Linked DNA regions of Homo sapiens: all the other regions are linked to region 2. Evidence: promoter capture Hi-C in 16 types of primary human blood cells and fetal thymus (Javierre and others, 2016). All regions are on one chromosome and are shown on one strand. Each heading gives the region's core, a stretch centred on a gene start or on the middle of the fragment in contact. The rest is flanking DNA. Distances are from core to core; before and after follow the strand shown. Region 1 has its middle 14 kb from the start of HDAC11-AS1. Region 2 holds the start of IQSEC1 (IQ motif and Sec7 domain ArfGEF 1). Region 3 overlaps NUP210 (nucleoporin 210). Region 4 overlaps NUP210 (nucleoporin 210).

The links. Contacts are between HindIII fragments. The CHiCAGO score rates a contact against its expected background, and 5 or more counts as called.
Region 1: a fragment that was not itself captured here is called in contact with the fragment with the promoter of IQSEC1 in region 2 in 8 of 17 cell types (total B cells, naive B cells, M2 macrophages and 5 more); the score reaches 10.7 in total B cells.
Region 3: a fragment that was not itself captured here is called in contact with the fragment with the promoter of IQSEC1 in region 2 in 2 of 17 cell types (naive B cells and total B cells); the score reaches 6.3 in naive B cells.
Region 4: a contact is called between a fragment that was not itself captured here and the fragment with the promoter of IQSEC1 in region 2, in 1 of 17 cell types (naive B cells). The highest score is 6.9, in naive B cells.

What each region holds. Positions count from the first base shown.
Region 1 is chr3:13,464,189-13,467,408 of GRCh38, reverse strand. No RefSeq gene overlaps it. Among named protein-coding and RNA genes, the nearest start is that of HDAC11-AS1, 14 kb to the left of the region's middle. The HindIII fragment of the contact is 3,587 bases long and covers 170-3,220 here.
Region 2 is chr3:13,072,116-13,075,519 of GRCh38, reverse strand. IQSEC1 (IQ motif and Sec7 domain ArfGEF 1) reads left to right here and starts at 2,091. Exons shown (of 14, transcript NM_001134382.3): 1 at 2,091-2,528. The coding sequence starts at 2,506. RefSeq lists silencers at 1,716-1,895, 2,016-2,175. The HindIII fragment of the contact is 20,266 bases long and covers 1-3,404 here.
Region 3 is chr3:13,338,177-13,341,273 of GRCh38, reverse strand. NUP210 (nucleoporin 210) reads left to right here. Exons shown (of 40, transcript NM_024923.4): 24 at 976-1,038; 25 at 1,241-1,420. Among named protein-coding and RNA genes, the nearest start is that of NUP210, 81 kb to the left of the region's middle. The HindIII fragment of the contact is 3,961 bases long and covers 1-3,097 here.
Region 4 is chr3:13,364,152-13,367,247 of GRCh38, reverse strand. NUP210 (nucleoporin 210) reads left to right here. Exons shown (of 40, transcript NM_024923.4): 14 at 1,157-1,302. Among named protein-coding and RNA genes, the nearest start is that of NUP210, 55 kb to the left of the region's middle. The HindIII fragment of the contact is 7,208 bases long and covers 1-3,096 here.

The sequences.
Region 1 (3,220 bases), core at 714-3,213, 390 kb before region 2:
AGAAAAATAAAGCTTCCAGGCATTCTCACGTAGCAAGCATGGCTCTAAATGCAGAACCATTTCCACTACACTGAAGTTATTTCTCTCAGAAAAAAAAATTTTTAATGGATGACATGTAAGGACCCATCCTGGGAAAATTGAGCTGAAAGGAAGAATGTAAGAGAAAGCTTAAATCATTGCATATAAAAGGTCTTCCTATCTATTTTGTTTGTAGAAGCAACAAAACTGGAATGGACCCAAATGCCAAAGGATAGGGAAATAGTTAAGCCAACAAGTAGAGTACTTTGCAGTTAAGAGAAGTTAATTCCCGGATGCCTCCGAGGAAAAGGAGAAATGTGTATCTTAACCAAGAAAACTAAGTGGAGCCCAGGTTTATAAGTAAACACTGACCCTTGTTACTTATAAAAGCCACACATAGCATGCTGGTCAACTGCCCACAGGCACTCGGGTCCACTTCTGCCCTGCCCTTGTCCTCTGGCTTCTTATTCAGTCAGTGGCCACTGGTGCTGGAACGCTAGAGGGTGAGAAGAGAGGATAAAGCAGGGCATTTCTCCCCTGGGTGCCCTTTGACATCTCCAGCAGAGGGAGGGTCTTCTCCTCTGTGGCTTCAGCTCTGCCTTGTCCCCCTGGGAACTTCGGTGGTCCCATCGCCTACCAGAAAGACCCTTCCTACGGCTCTAGCTCCTACGGGGCACCCCAACTCCTGGGTCACACCTATTACCTTCTCTTTATTCCTAGGAATGGGAGTGGCCTCCTGCTGAACTAATCCCTCTAACCTCACTGCCACTGCCTCCACCACCAGAGCAACCAATTCCCTGTATTAAATTCCATGAGAGAGCTTTGTGTTTTCCTGGCTGGCTCCAGGCTGATACTTGCACTAAGGGATAAAAATAAGAAGTGTGTTTGTTTGTTTGTTTTGAGACAGAGTCTTGCTCTGTTTCCCAGGCTGGAGTGCAGTGGCTTACTGCAACCTCCGCCTCCCGGGTTTAAGCAATTCTCCTGTCTCCACCTCCTGAGTAGCAGGGACTACAGGTGCGTGCCACCATGCCCAGCTAATTTTTGTATTTTTAGTAGAGATGGAGTTTTGCCATGTTGGCCAGGCTGGACTTGAACTCCTGACCTCAGGTGATCTGCCCACCTCAGCCTCCCAAAGTGCTGGAATGAGCCACTGTGCCAGGCTGCATCCTCGGCAGATGGGAATGTGATCTCCGTGACAACCAGCAAAGACCACTCCTGAGGCCCAGATGGTACCGAGGATACCTCAGTGGAGGCTACTGACCCCTCCCACCCATGACTTAGCACCACATTTAATCCCTGGAGAGTGTAGGCGCATCCTAGAAATAGGAAGAAGGGAAATATTGAGTTGCCACCCTACAGGAATAAGATCTGGAAAGAGAAATTAAGATAGGATATAAAAAATAAAGAAAGGTACGATTTGTGCGCAAATTAGTTTATAGACTAGAATTCAAATCCACTACAACTGAGAGAATAATTGGCCTTCAGTGGAATGCAAAGAGGGTGATAAAGACACTAGAATGCAGTGGAAAATGTTCCAGCATTGGAGGGAAAGAATCCTCCCACTCCCTGGAATTGCCCACTTTGAAGTCAGCAGGGTCCTTCAATATTAAGCAGCATGACCCCTCATTTCATAGTCAAAAAAAACAGATGTCCAGGGAGGCTCAATAGCTGGCCTGAGATCTCACAGTCAGCTAATGTGGGGAGCAAGAACCCGAGCCTGTGGTTTTCTCTGCTACACTTGGGTGGCTGCTGGGTCTTGCTGCAAAGACCCAAATTGCTTCTTAATTGGAGTCTCCTGCTTAATTAGCTGCTTCCTGAGCAGCCCGTGCTCCCTGTCTGGAAATCTCAATCAACACCATCTTCTCTAAATTGCTGTGACCTCGCTCTTCTCATCTCTTCCATGCAGGGATTCACTTCTTGGTTTTGCCCAGTGGGACAGCTGGGGAGAGGATGGGCCATGTGGACAGCCTCTGCAGAGAGAAAGCAGCTGTTCTTACCACCATGCCTGCTCCAGGGACTTCAGAGGGCTTCACAACCACCCCAAGAGGGTTGGGACTGGGGAACAGGAAGACTGGGTCCAATCCTGGATTTGCCACTAACTCCCCGTGTGATCTTGGGAAACCTCTGTCACTCTAGGGGCTTCAGTGACCATTAAATTACGGTTTCTCCTCTAAATTAGGGTCACTAGGCTTAGCAAATAAAAATGCAAGATACTGAGTTACATTTGAATTTCAGTAAGCAACACCATTTTTTAGTATAAGTGTGTCCCATGCAGTAAGTGTATTTGAGATATACTTATACCAAAAATTTTTTTTGGTATCTGAAATTCAAATTTAACTAGGCATCCTGTATTTTATCTGACAATCCTACCCCACATGGAAAAATTCTGTTCCATCTGCTGTGCGGAGGCAGCCTGATGAAGCATACACAGCACAGCTTGAGGGTGAGGCAGTCCTGAGTGTGAATCCCAGAACTGCCACCCAGCCTGTGTGATCTTGGGCAAGTCAGTTCACCTCTCTGAACCTCAGTTGCCCAGAGTAGAAAATGGATATATTAATCACTGACTGGTCATCTCTCAGGACTAATTAGTTCTCTCTCAAGACTAGCGAAAGAGACCGGAGGCAGTGGCTCACCCTGTAATCCCAATACTTTGGGAGGCAGAGGCAGGAGGATTGCTTGAGCCTAGGAGTTTGAGGCCAGCCTGGACAGCATGGGGATACCCCGTCTCTACCAAAAAATACAAAAATTAGCCAGGCATGGTGGCACAGGCCTGTAGTCCCAGCTATATTCAGGAGGCCGAGGTGGAAGGATCCCTTGAGCCCAGGAGGGCAAGGCTGCAGTGAGCCGTGATCATGCCATTGCACTCCAGACCCTGTCTCAAAAAAAAGATTAGTGAAAGGACATAATTTAAATCCCTTTATAGACTGCAAAGTTTGCAATAAACTCGAACATTTATTAAGAACCTGCTATAAGCAGGTTATACAACACATTCTACCAAATATTATGGGAAATAGAGATAACAGTGCAATTGGAAAGACATTTGTAAGAAAAGCCCAAGGCTATCTATTTTTCACAGAATCCTTCCATAAAGTGAAATCCCATCAAGAATCTGAATTTGGACTGCTACGAACTGATAAGGAATTTGATGCTTCAGGAAAAAAATTTGTGCAGTCTTGGGAAACAGTCATGCCTGGGCTTGACG
Region 2 (3,404 bases), core at 842-3,341:
AAAGGGACACTGGGTGCTCCACACTCAAGGCATCCAATTCACCACTCTGAGCCTGTTTCCGCCTCTGGAAGATGGAAGTGAGAAGAGAATCGCTAGTTGAGCAAGGCGGCTGAGAGGGGCATTGCTCTAGCCCGAGCCAGGCTGTGAGTTAGTCTGGGCTCTGCTGCTGCCTTGATGGGAGACCCCCGTATGTGGTGCAACCCATCTAAGCAGGAGTGGTAATTATGTTCACTTCGTAGGGCGCTTCTGAGAATTCACTGAGACCATGAAACAACTGGACCTGACACAAAGTGAGCCCTCCTGATGCAGTGGCTGAATTTTGATGTTATTAAAATCTTTTGAAACTCCAGTGAGGAGAGGGGTGGGGTGGGCTCTGCAACATGTTAACCCACAGAAATATGAATTCCTCACATGACTCAGGGAGGGAGGTCCGTGCTACAGGAAGATTGGTCATGCATATGGATTCACCTGGAGAGGGCAGATCGGGAAGCGTCATGCAGTTCTGTTCGATGCCTCACCTTGGCCACCTGAGGCCGCAGCTCCAACCTCTGCTCCCTACCAGGACACTGAGCTGGAAGACTGGGGTCCTAGTCCCACCTCTGCCACTCTTTGCTGTGCAACTTTAGGCAAATCGCTCACCCCCTGAGGTTCATTTCCTCCCCTGTAAAGGATGGAATGGAACTCAAGGATGCAGCATCACTCCTTCTAAATTCGGTGAGTGTGAATCTGGAGAGAATGGAAAGAGGAAGGGAAATGGCCCTGTGGGCTGCCATCCACATCCAGCCGATTCCCAGTCTCAACTACTCCCTCTCTCATTTATTCCTCCCAGTGAGGCAGCTTTCAAGCAGTCAAGAACCAAGACTCTGGAGCCAGACTGCCCGCCAGCTATGTGGCTTGGGCCAGTTGCTGAACCTCTGGCTTTAATGCGCTCCCCCGTGAAGTAGGATGATAGTATTAGGCCTCATTGGGGTTGTCTTGAGGATTACCGTGCACGGAAGAATATTATCTACATGCCTCTGAGATAGGTCTGGGATTCCTGGTTTACAGATGAGGAAGCAGAGAGGATCAGATGAACATCAGACAGGAAGAGAGAAATCTGTGTGGGAAAGGCGGGTGTGGGAGCCGAGGATGGATGTGCGCTTCTCCCCTCCACCTCCCTGTCGCACACTGCACCACGCTGGCCTCCTCTGGGCCAGTCAAATACACCAGGCTGCCTTCCGCCTCAGAGCCTTGACGCCAGCTCCTCCCCTGCTTCTTGCGTCATCCGAGTCTCAGCCACACGTGCCTCACAGAGGGCCTTCCCGACCACCCCGTCTGATGGCAGAAGCCTCCTTCCCGCCTCTCTTGGGGTCCCTGCCTCCCCTCTTCCTGCTCTCTTTTCATCCTGATCCTTATCACCACGTGCAATCCTATATCTGCACACTTACTTCCTGGCTTCCCCTTAGACTGTAAACATCATGAGGGCAGATACTTGCCCGGCACATGGAAGGTCCTCGGGAGAGGAAGAGGCACCATAGCTAGACCAGAAATTCTCCCTAGCCACGTGCAGCCCCCTTTGGGACAGGACTGGCACAAACGAGGACTGCTCTGCCATCCACCGTGCAGCTACTGGCGTGGTGCGCCCTCCTGGAACCCCGTGGTATAGCTGTTATGATCCCTTTCACAGTAGCATAATCAAGACTCCCAGGAGAGACGCGGCTTGCCAAGGTCTCATCGCCCTTCAGTGGCAGAGACAGCCTTGGAGTCGGCCGGCCTCACTCCAGGGCCAGAGCCCCGAGAGCTCCGCGGCTCGCGTGTCTCAGTGCCGAAGGCAGAAAAGCCGCCTTGGAAAGTAGTGTCATCGTAGGCTCCGCGCGGCGCGTGCATTTTAGCAACAGACTTCCAGGTTTCCAGCGCGGGCCAGGAAGGGGCCGGCGCCCCGCGCCCCGCCGGGTGTGTGACTTTGCCGCGAGGGCGCAGCCGAGCGGCCGCGCCTGATGCTGCTGTTGCCATGGCGACCAGCGCCTCGGCGATTGGTCCGGCGCGGCCGCACTACGTTGCTCCTTGGGCGCGGGGGGTGGGGGAGGCTCCGGCGCGCCCGCCCCTTCTCCGGATGCTGCGAGAGCAAACCCGGGGCAGCCTTCTCTCGACCCTCCCCTCCTCATCCCCGCGCCCCGCACCCCGGATGGACGGGAGGGAAAAACCCCAAGGTGGGCCCAGGTAGCAGCGAGGTGGACGCCCCCGCCCAGCCTGGCGACCACGGTTACTCGACGTCCTCGCTCGCTCCTGGGCACGGTGTGAGCGCGCGCTACGTGCCAGGGCCCTCCACAGCCCGCTGCTGGCGCCGCCCCCCGCTCCCGCCCCAGCCTCCCTGGAGGAGCCCGCCACCCCCGGGAATGTGACTCGCCCCGCGATTTAATTTTATTCCCCTCCACTTCTTGCCTGAGCCGCCTGCTCCTCTTGGAAACACGTTGAGCCTCCCCGCTGGAGAGGGAGCCAGAACAGGGAAGAACGGATTCACACAGGATGGCTTGCAGAAGACGCTATTTGTGAGTATATGTGGCAGGTTTCTGCCTGAAGCCAGAGGCCAGAGGGGCCCGGCTGAGCTGGGAGCTGGAGTGAGGGGCATCGTTGGGGGAGGGGCAGGTGGATGTGCAGGTGACTTGCAGAGGGAGCTGGCCACCCAGCAGGGATGCCGGCGCTCGGCCCCTGCAGCGGAGGTGTTTGTTGGTGATGACGATGAGAAAAAGGCTATTAGTCAGCAGGTCTTCAGCAGGCTGTGAAATTCCCAACTGTGAGAGCAGGTATCCCCCCTCCCAGATCCACATTCAGGGTGCCCAGACCGGCTCCTACTGTTTTGGCTTTGGTTTAGCCCATAGCCTGTTTAGGAAGAGAATCTCTGCCCAGCACGCCCATGGCCAGCCCTTCAGCCATGCCTGATAGAAGGTCGCAGGCAGGCTGAGGCAGTGGCCAGGATGCTGCGTCCTCCAAGGGCAGGTGAAGGTCCAGCCCACCGTCCCTAGCACGGAGGCATCAGTGTCCAGCTGTGTGCCCAGGTGTTCTGTGGGCTGGCAGCAGAGCGGCTGTGTGCTGGGCCTCACGCCAGCAGCAGAGGCTGTGAAAGTCTGCACGGGGCGGTGACATCACGGGCCCGGGTATTTATGGAAACCAAAGCCTGCGCTTCGGTTAGCCAGGCTTCCCAGGGGGCAGTGGGGTTCGAATGCCAGCTTCCCTCACAGCTCTCTGGGCGCTGCACTGTGCTGTTCTAGGAGGAGCAACCTTTGCCCTCCTCTGGGACCCTCGGCTGCGGGGGTTGAGGCCCAGCGTCAGGTCTCCACCTGCCTAAACTATTTGCCCAGGACCCACTCATTTGGGGCTGTGCAGTGACCTCAGACCTTAGGAGGTTAGAGAGCATGGCTGAGTCC
Region 3 (3,097 bases), core at 588-3,087, 270 kb before region 2:
CCTGGATGAAGGGAGCTTTGAGGTCCCCACACCAGCTCAGTGTGTGGTATGGGGCTGTCTCGGGGCATTAGGTTATGACAGGAGCCCCACTGCAGCCACAGGCCATGGCAGTTGTGGCCCAGGCATTGTTTTAAGTCTATTCACAGCAGCGGCATTAAACCAGCCCTGCCAGCATCCACCCTGCATCCGGGCCACTCGGGGGCTGGTGAGCGTCATTAATCTGTGATCCGAAGCAGGTGGGTGCCATCTGTGTCTCTAGATGGAGGTGCACCTTTCTTCTGGTGATGAGAAATTTGTTTCTGCCCATCAATAGCACAGCTACAGAGACCGATACTCCCACACAAGTAGCACCCTGGCCACCTCCTGCGTCCACTCACCTACTCTTGCCAGGCAGGCTCTTGTAGGGGTTTCAGGAGGAGCAGGTGGGGGCTTCACCTGCTGCAAAGAGTGGCACCAACGTCCCTGGTCTCCTCCCAGGCTAATCCGGAGGGTGTGCTAGAAGAGCAACCTCTGGGGGTCTGGGTGCTCCCATATCGGCAGGGCTGTCCTGTGGGGCCACCCCTGGCTCCACAGGCCAGGTGGCTGGGGCTGTACATTGCTAATGTGTCCCCAGGCGCTGCTGACATTGCTGCTTAGTGACCACACACTGAGAACCGCTGCTCTAAGGGGATGGCTCAACTGCATAAAAGCCATCCCTCCAAGGGGACGGCCCAGCTTTTGGGTTTTAACATCTAGGGAAAGTGAAACACAGTCACAAACAGAAGAACACACCCCAGAGAACCAGGGAGCCTCGGCCAGTGGCTGGGAGACAGCCCCCAGCATTGGCCCAGGACCCTGGGCCCTCTGGTCACTGCTCAGAGAGAAGTGATGTCCATGTCCCAGGTTTTCCTCTCATGAAACATGTAGTGTGTGAGTTATGCTTGGCGCCATGGGCTTGGGGCACAGTAGTCCTTTCTCTCCTGTGTCTCTCAACAGGTCTTTCCCCCGTTCAGGCTGATGCCCAGGAAGGTGACACTGCTTATCGGGGCCACGATGCAGGTGAGAGCCAAGAGGCCACGTCCTGCTCCAGCCCCAGTGCAGGCCACCACCTGGTTCCAGGCACGCCGCCTCTGGCCCTGCGTGCAGTGACTGGGAGAAGAAGGCAGAAGCTGCCTGCACTGGGGCCCTGGCTCTCTGAGTGGGAGGTGCGGGCTGCCTGGCATGACGGGCACTGACACGCCGCTGTTTCCTCCCCGCTCAGGTCACCTCCGAGGGCGGCCCCCAGCCTCAGTCCAACATCCTTTTCTCCATCAGCAATGAGAGCGTTGCGCTGGTGAGCGCTGCTGGGCTGGTACAGGGCCTCGCCATCGGGAACGGCACTGTGTCTGGGCTCGTGCAGGCAGTGGATGCAGAGACCGGCAAGGTGGTCATCATCTCTCAGGTAACAGGCGTGCTATTGGAGACTGGGCAGCTGTGCCTGGGACAGAAGCCTCTTTACTGTGTTTGAGTTCTACCTCTGAGGACCACCCCTCTCCAAGGGTGCTGCTTCTGCCCCCTGGGTCTGCAGTCACTGCAGGGGCCCTGGTGCAGGACAGCCCTGCCAATATGGGAGCACCCAGACCCCCATTGGTTGTTCTTCTCCAAGCTGAGTCTCCCAGTCCTTCCAGCTGCTCCTTATGGGACAGGGTGTTCAGCAACTCCCGGCCCCAAAGGGCCCTTCCAGTGGAGGATGATGGCAATCATGGTGAAGGCAGATGCTGCTCTGAGCACTTTGCCTTCATCTCCTTGAATCCTCTCAAGGCTCAGGGCTAAAATCAGGGCCTTTGCATTCTCCCTGACCTCCTTCGCCAGCAGTGACTTGCAGAAGCATCTCGGAAGGCTGCTTTGGGGTTCCACTCACAGCTGCGCCAGAAACCTGGTCTGTAAGAAGAGCCTTCTGTGATGTGTAATGCAACTGTGGACAGAAACCTGTTTCAGAGTCAGTCATACCATTCCTCATGAGAACTAGGTCCCCTGGAAGCAGTCCGTGCAGTCCTGAGTTCAGAACCTGTAAACACAGCACCCCAGAAGCTGGCAAGTGCACCGCCCTAGAGGGGGTGCAGGGAAATGCTTGTTCTCAGAGGCTGACTGTGATCCGTCATTGAGTTCATTGATTTACTCCTTTTCCCAGTGTGTGTCAATTATGAAGACAAAGAGAAAGACTTGGGGATGTAAAAACCTGTCCTGGGGATGGGGTAGGGTTCAGATGGGCTTCCTGGAGCGTGACATTCCAGACCACAGGAGACTCTGTGGTTTTTTTTCTCTAAAAAGGAGTGCAGCCTCAGGAGCTGGCTGATTTTTCTCCTGAGGGCGTAGGTAAAGGGCAGCTGGCTAGAAATTCAGCAAGAGGGGCACAGGGCCCTGCGTATTCCTTGTCTTTGTGGTCTAACCTTGCTGGGCACCCTCCCTTCTAGGTCCCCCATCTGGCAGGTTGGGGAGGTGCTGGGGAAAGGCCCTGGTGGTCCTTGGCAGGTGGAGGGGCTGCACCACGAGCCCTATCTGAAAGGCATGTTCTGAGCCCAGGCAGGCAGAGGTTTCACCTGCGGCGCCTTGTCCATGCCTGGAATGTGATTCTGGTCAGATGCTTCCAGTTCCATCTGTCCAATCCAGAGCACACAACCAGCACCCCAAGGCCGTGGGGTGGGCCAGGACTAGCAGGAAGAGACTGAGCAGAAAGATGAGTGAAAGGAGGGGAATGGGTGCTTTTCAAGCACTTACTGTGTGCCAGGCATTAGCCCAAGTCATGAGCCTCAAGATGGGCTCAGCCTGAGCACGTCAGAGAGTCTAAGGGTTTTAATAGCCTCAGTTCAGCATGACTCAGCAGCACTAGGAAGAAGCCAGGAGAGTTAGTCTTTGGCCAGATTAATAGGAGTGTGGAGTTCAGAATGAAGGAGGTTATAAGTTCTGATCAGACTCTACAGGGCTCCTGCATTCGTCCCTGTACCCTGCTCAGTCAGAGACAGGCAGGCTGGATTTGGGGTTGGGAGGGCCTGGAGACCTTTTGCTTGAGGGCAGCCAGGCCTAAGGAAGAGCAGGCACCAGTCCCCGGCCCCAAGTCTGCAGTGCTGACCTGGAACAG
Region 4 (3,096 bases), core at 96-2,595, 290 kb before region 2:
TCAGGCTAGTCTCAAACTCCCGACCTCAGGTGATCCTCCCACCTCAGCCTCCCAAAGTGCTGGGATTGCAGGTGTGAGCCACCATGCCCGGCCGTGAATTAAACATTTTTATTTTTCTTTTGAGACAGAGTTTCACTCTTATTGCCCAGGCTGGAGTGCAATGGTGCGATTTCGGCTCACTGCAACCTCTGCCTCCTGGGTTCAAGTGATTCTCCCGTCTCAGCCTCCGGAGTAGCTGGAATTACAGGCATGCGCCACCACACCTGGCTAATTTTTTGTATTTTTAGTAGAGACAGGGTTTCTCCATGTTGGTCAGGCTGGTCTTAAACTCCTGACCTCAGGTGATCCGCCCATCTCAGCCTCCCAAAGTGCTGGGATTACAGGCGTGAGCCACCGTGCCTGGCTGAATTAAATATTTTTTTAAAAATCAGGGCCGGGTGCGGTGGCTCATGCCTGTAATTCCAGCACTTTGGGAGGCTGAGGGGGGTGGATAATGAGGTCAGGAGATTGAGATCATCCTGGCTAATATGGTGAAACCCCATCTCTACTAAAAATACAAAGAATTAGCTGGGCGTGGTGGCGCATGCCTCTAATCCCAGCTACTCGGGAGGCTGAGGCAGGAGAATCGCTTGAAGCCGGGAGGTGGAGCTTGCAGTGAGCTGAGATAGCACCACTGCACTCCAGCCTGGGAGACAGAGTGAGACTCTATCTCAAAAAAAAAAAAAAAAAAAGAAAGAAATCAGATCAAGGATCAAGCCTGGGATGAAAGAGGGGGCCCCCAGCCTGTTGTGCCTTCCCCACCAAAGGTGATTTCAGGGCTGGGCACAGTGGCTCACACCTGTGATCCCAGCACTTTGGGAGGCTGAGGCAGATTGATCACTTGAGGTCAGGAGTTCAAGACCAGCCTGGCCAACATGATGAAACCCCGTCTCTATTAAAAAAAATACAAAAATTAGCCGGGTGTAGTGGTCCATGCCTGTAGTCCCAGCTATCTGGGAGGCTGAGGCAGGAGAATCACTTGAACCCCGGAGGCGGAGGTCGCAGTGAGCCAAGATCATGCCACTGTACTCCAGCCTGGGCAACACAGCGAGACTCCATCTCAAAAAAAAGAAAAAAGTGATTTCAGGGTGACCATCTAGTTCTCTCCTTTCTGTAGGGAGGCTGCCGCCAGGCTCTGAGCACTGCAGCGGCATCCGGGTAAAGGCCGAGGCCCAGGGCTCTACCACGCTTCTTGTGAGCTACAGACACGGCCACGTCCACCTGAGTGCCAAGATCACCATTGCTGCCTACCTGCCCCTCAAGGTGAGCCAGGGGCCCTGCCCTTTACCACCCCCCTGCCCACTCCTTCCCAGATGCAAATTACCCATTTGCTCTGACGAATTTGCATGATAAACCCGATTCCTTCAAAATAGCTTTTGGCACAGCTTCCTCTCCCATGATTTCTGGCTGAAAGCAGGATTCATGTGGAAGGAGCAGAGCCTCCCTGATGGGGCAGTGGTTGTGGGCATCTCTGTGGTTACGCGAGACAGCGCTTGGCAGGCTTGGCAGGACACCGACCTGCCAGCCTCTCCCAACGAAGGTAGGAGTGTGGGCTGCAAGGGCTTCAGAAGTGTGTTCAGCAAGGGTCAGAACAGGGGAGTGCTTCTGCTCCACTCCAGAGCTAACCTTCAGGGTCCCCACAGAGCCCTAGAATTAGGACAGCGGCCGTGTGGTATGGCAGATGCTGAGGCCTCCAAGACTGGGGTCAGAGAGGATCTGCCCTGGCCTAGTGTGCATCCATCCTGCTCCCCATCTGAGGACAGTGGTGGCCACGGCCTGTGCGGAGCAGACCACATAGCCTCAGTGTCCATACCACCCTCCTGAGCTGAGACCAGCCTGACCCCCACCCACTCTTGGGCCTTACATTCCCTGCCTGTAAAATGGGACTGAGACAGCTCTTGCCTCATGGGGTCGTGATGAGGATTTGCTGAGCTCACAAATGGAATGAGCTCAGAACACAGTCTAGGGGGTAGTGCAGGCTCAGGAAGGGTTAGTTATTATACACGGATAAAAAAGAACTGGGCCTTCCTCTGGGGTGGGTGTGAAGGCTCCGTGCGAGGGCTGCCATGCAGGAGGCTGCTGACTAATCATTCCTTTCTTTGAACTCTGCCTAGCTTGCAGGAGGCGCAGAGAGGGTTTGTTGATGGGGAGTTCCTGCTCCTCCTTCCAGGGAGGGCTGGAGAGCAGTCCTAGGGGAGCCCCAGACTCCCTGGCTTGGTCAGGCAGTCCTTGCATTTTTCTGCTCCCAGTGTCAGCCTTGAAGACAGCTCCGGTCCTCATGGTTTGTCCCATTTTTTTCTTCCTCTCAGGCATTCATTGGAAGCAAGCCTGGTGATGTTAGGATTTCTTTTTCTTTTTCTTTTATTTGTTTATTTTTTTTGAGACAGAGTTTCACTCTTGTTGCCCAGGCTGGAGTGCAATGGCGCCATCTCTGCTCACCGCAACCATTGCCTTCCAGGGTTAAGCGATTCTCCTGCCTCGGCCTCCTGAGTAGCTGGGATTACAGGCATGCACCACCATCCCCGGCTAATTTTGTATTTTTAGTAGAGACAGGGTTTCTCCATGTTAGTGAGGCTGGTCCCGAACTCCCGACCTCAGATGATCCTCCCACCTCAGCCTCCCAAAGTGCTGGGATTACAGGCGTGAGCCACCGTGCCTGGCGATGTTAGGATCTTTTATCTCTGAACCCCTAGCCCTGGGTTCAGTGCCTGGCACAGAGCAGACATCAACCAAGGGTGGTTTTGTTTAGAATGAACGTGTGAGGAAATGTATCCAAGGTCACCCAGCCAGGGCAGAAGCCAAGGCCTCCTGACCTCCAGAGCAAACATAACAGACACTTCTCAGATGTCCATTAGTGATCAGAGGCCTAGCCCTGCTCCTCATCCTCCACACATTTGTTCCTTTAGCACACAGGCATGAATACCTACCTACTTGTGCAATCCCTTCTGCAGGCCCTAGAGTTGCACCAGGGCAGAGAACACAGAACCTTTGTCCCCATGAAGTGACATTCTGGCAAAGAGAGGTAGAGATGACCATAAACAAAGCAAAGAATGTATT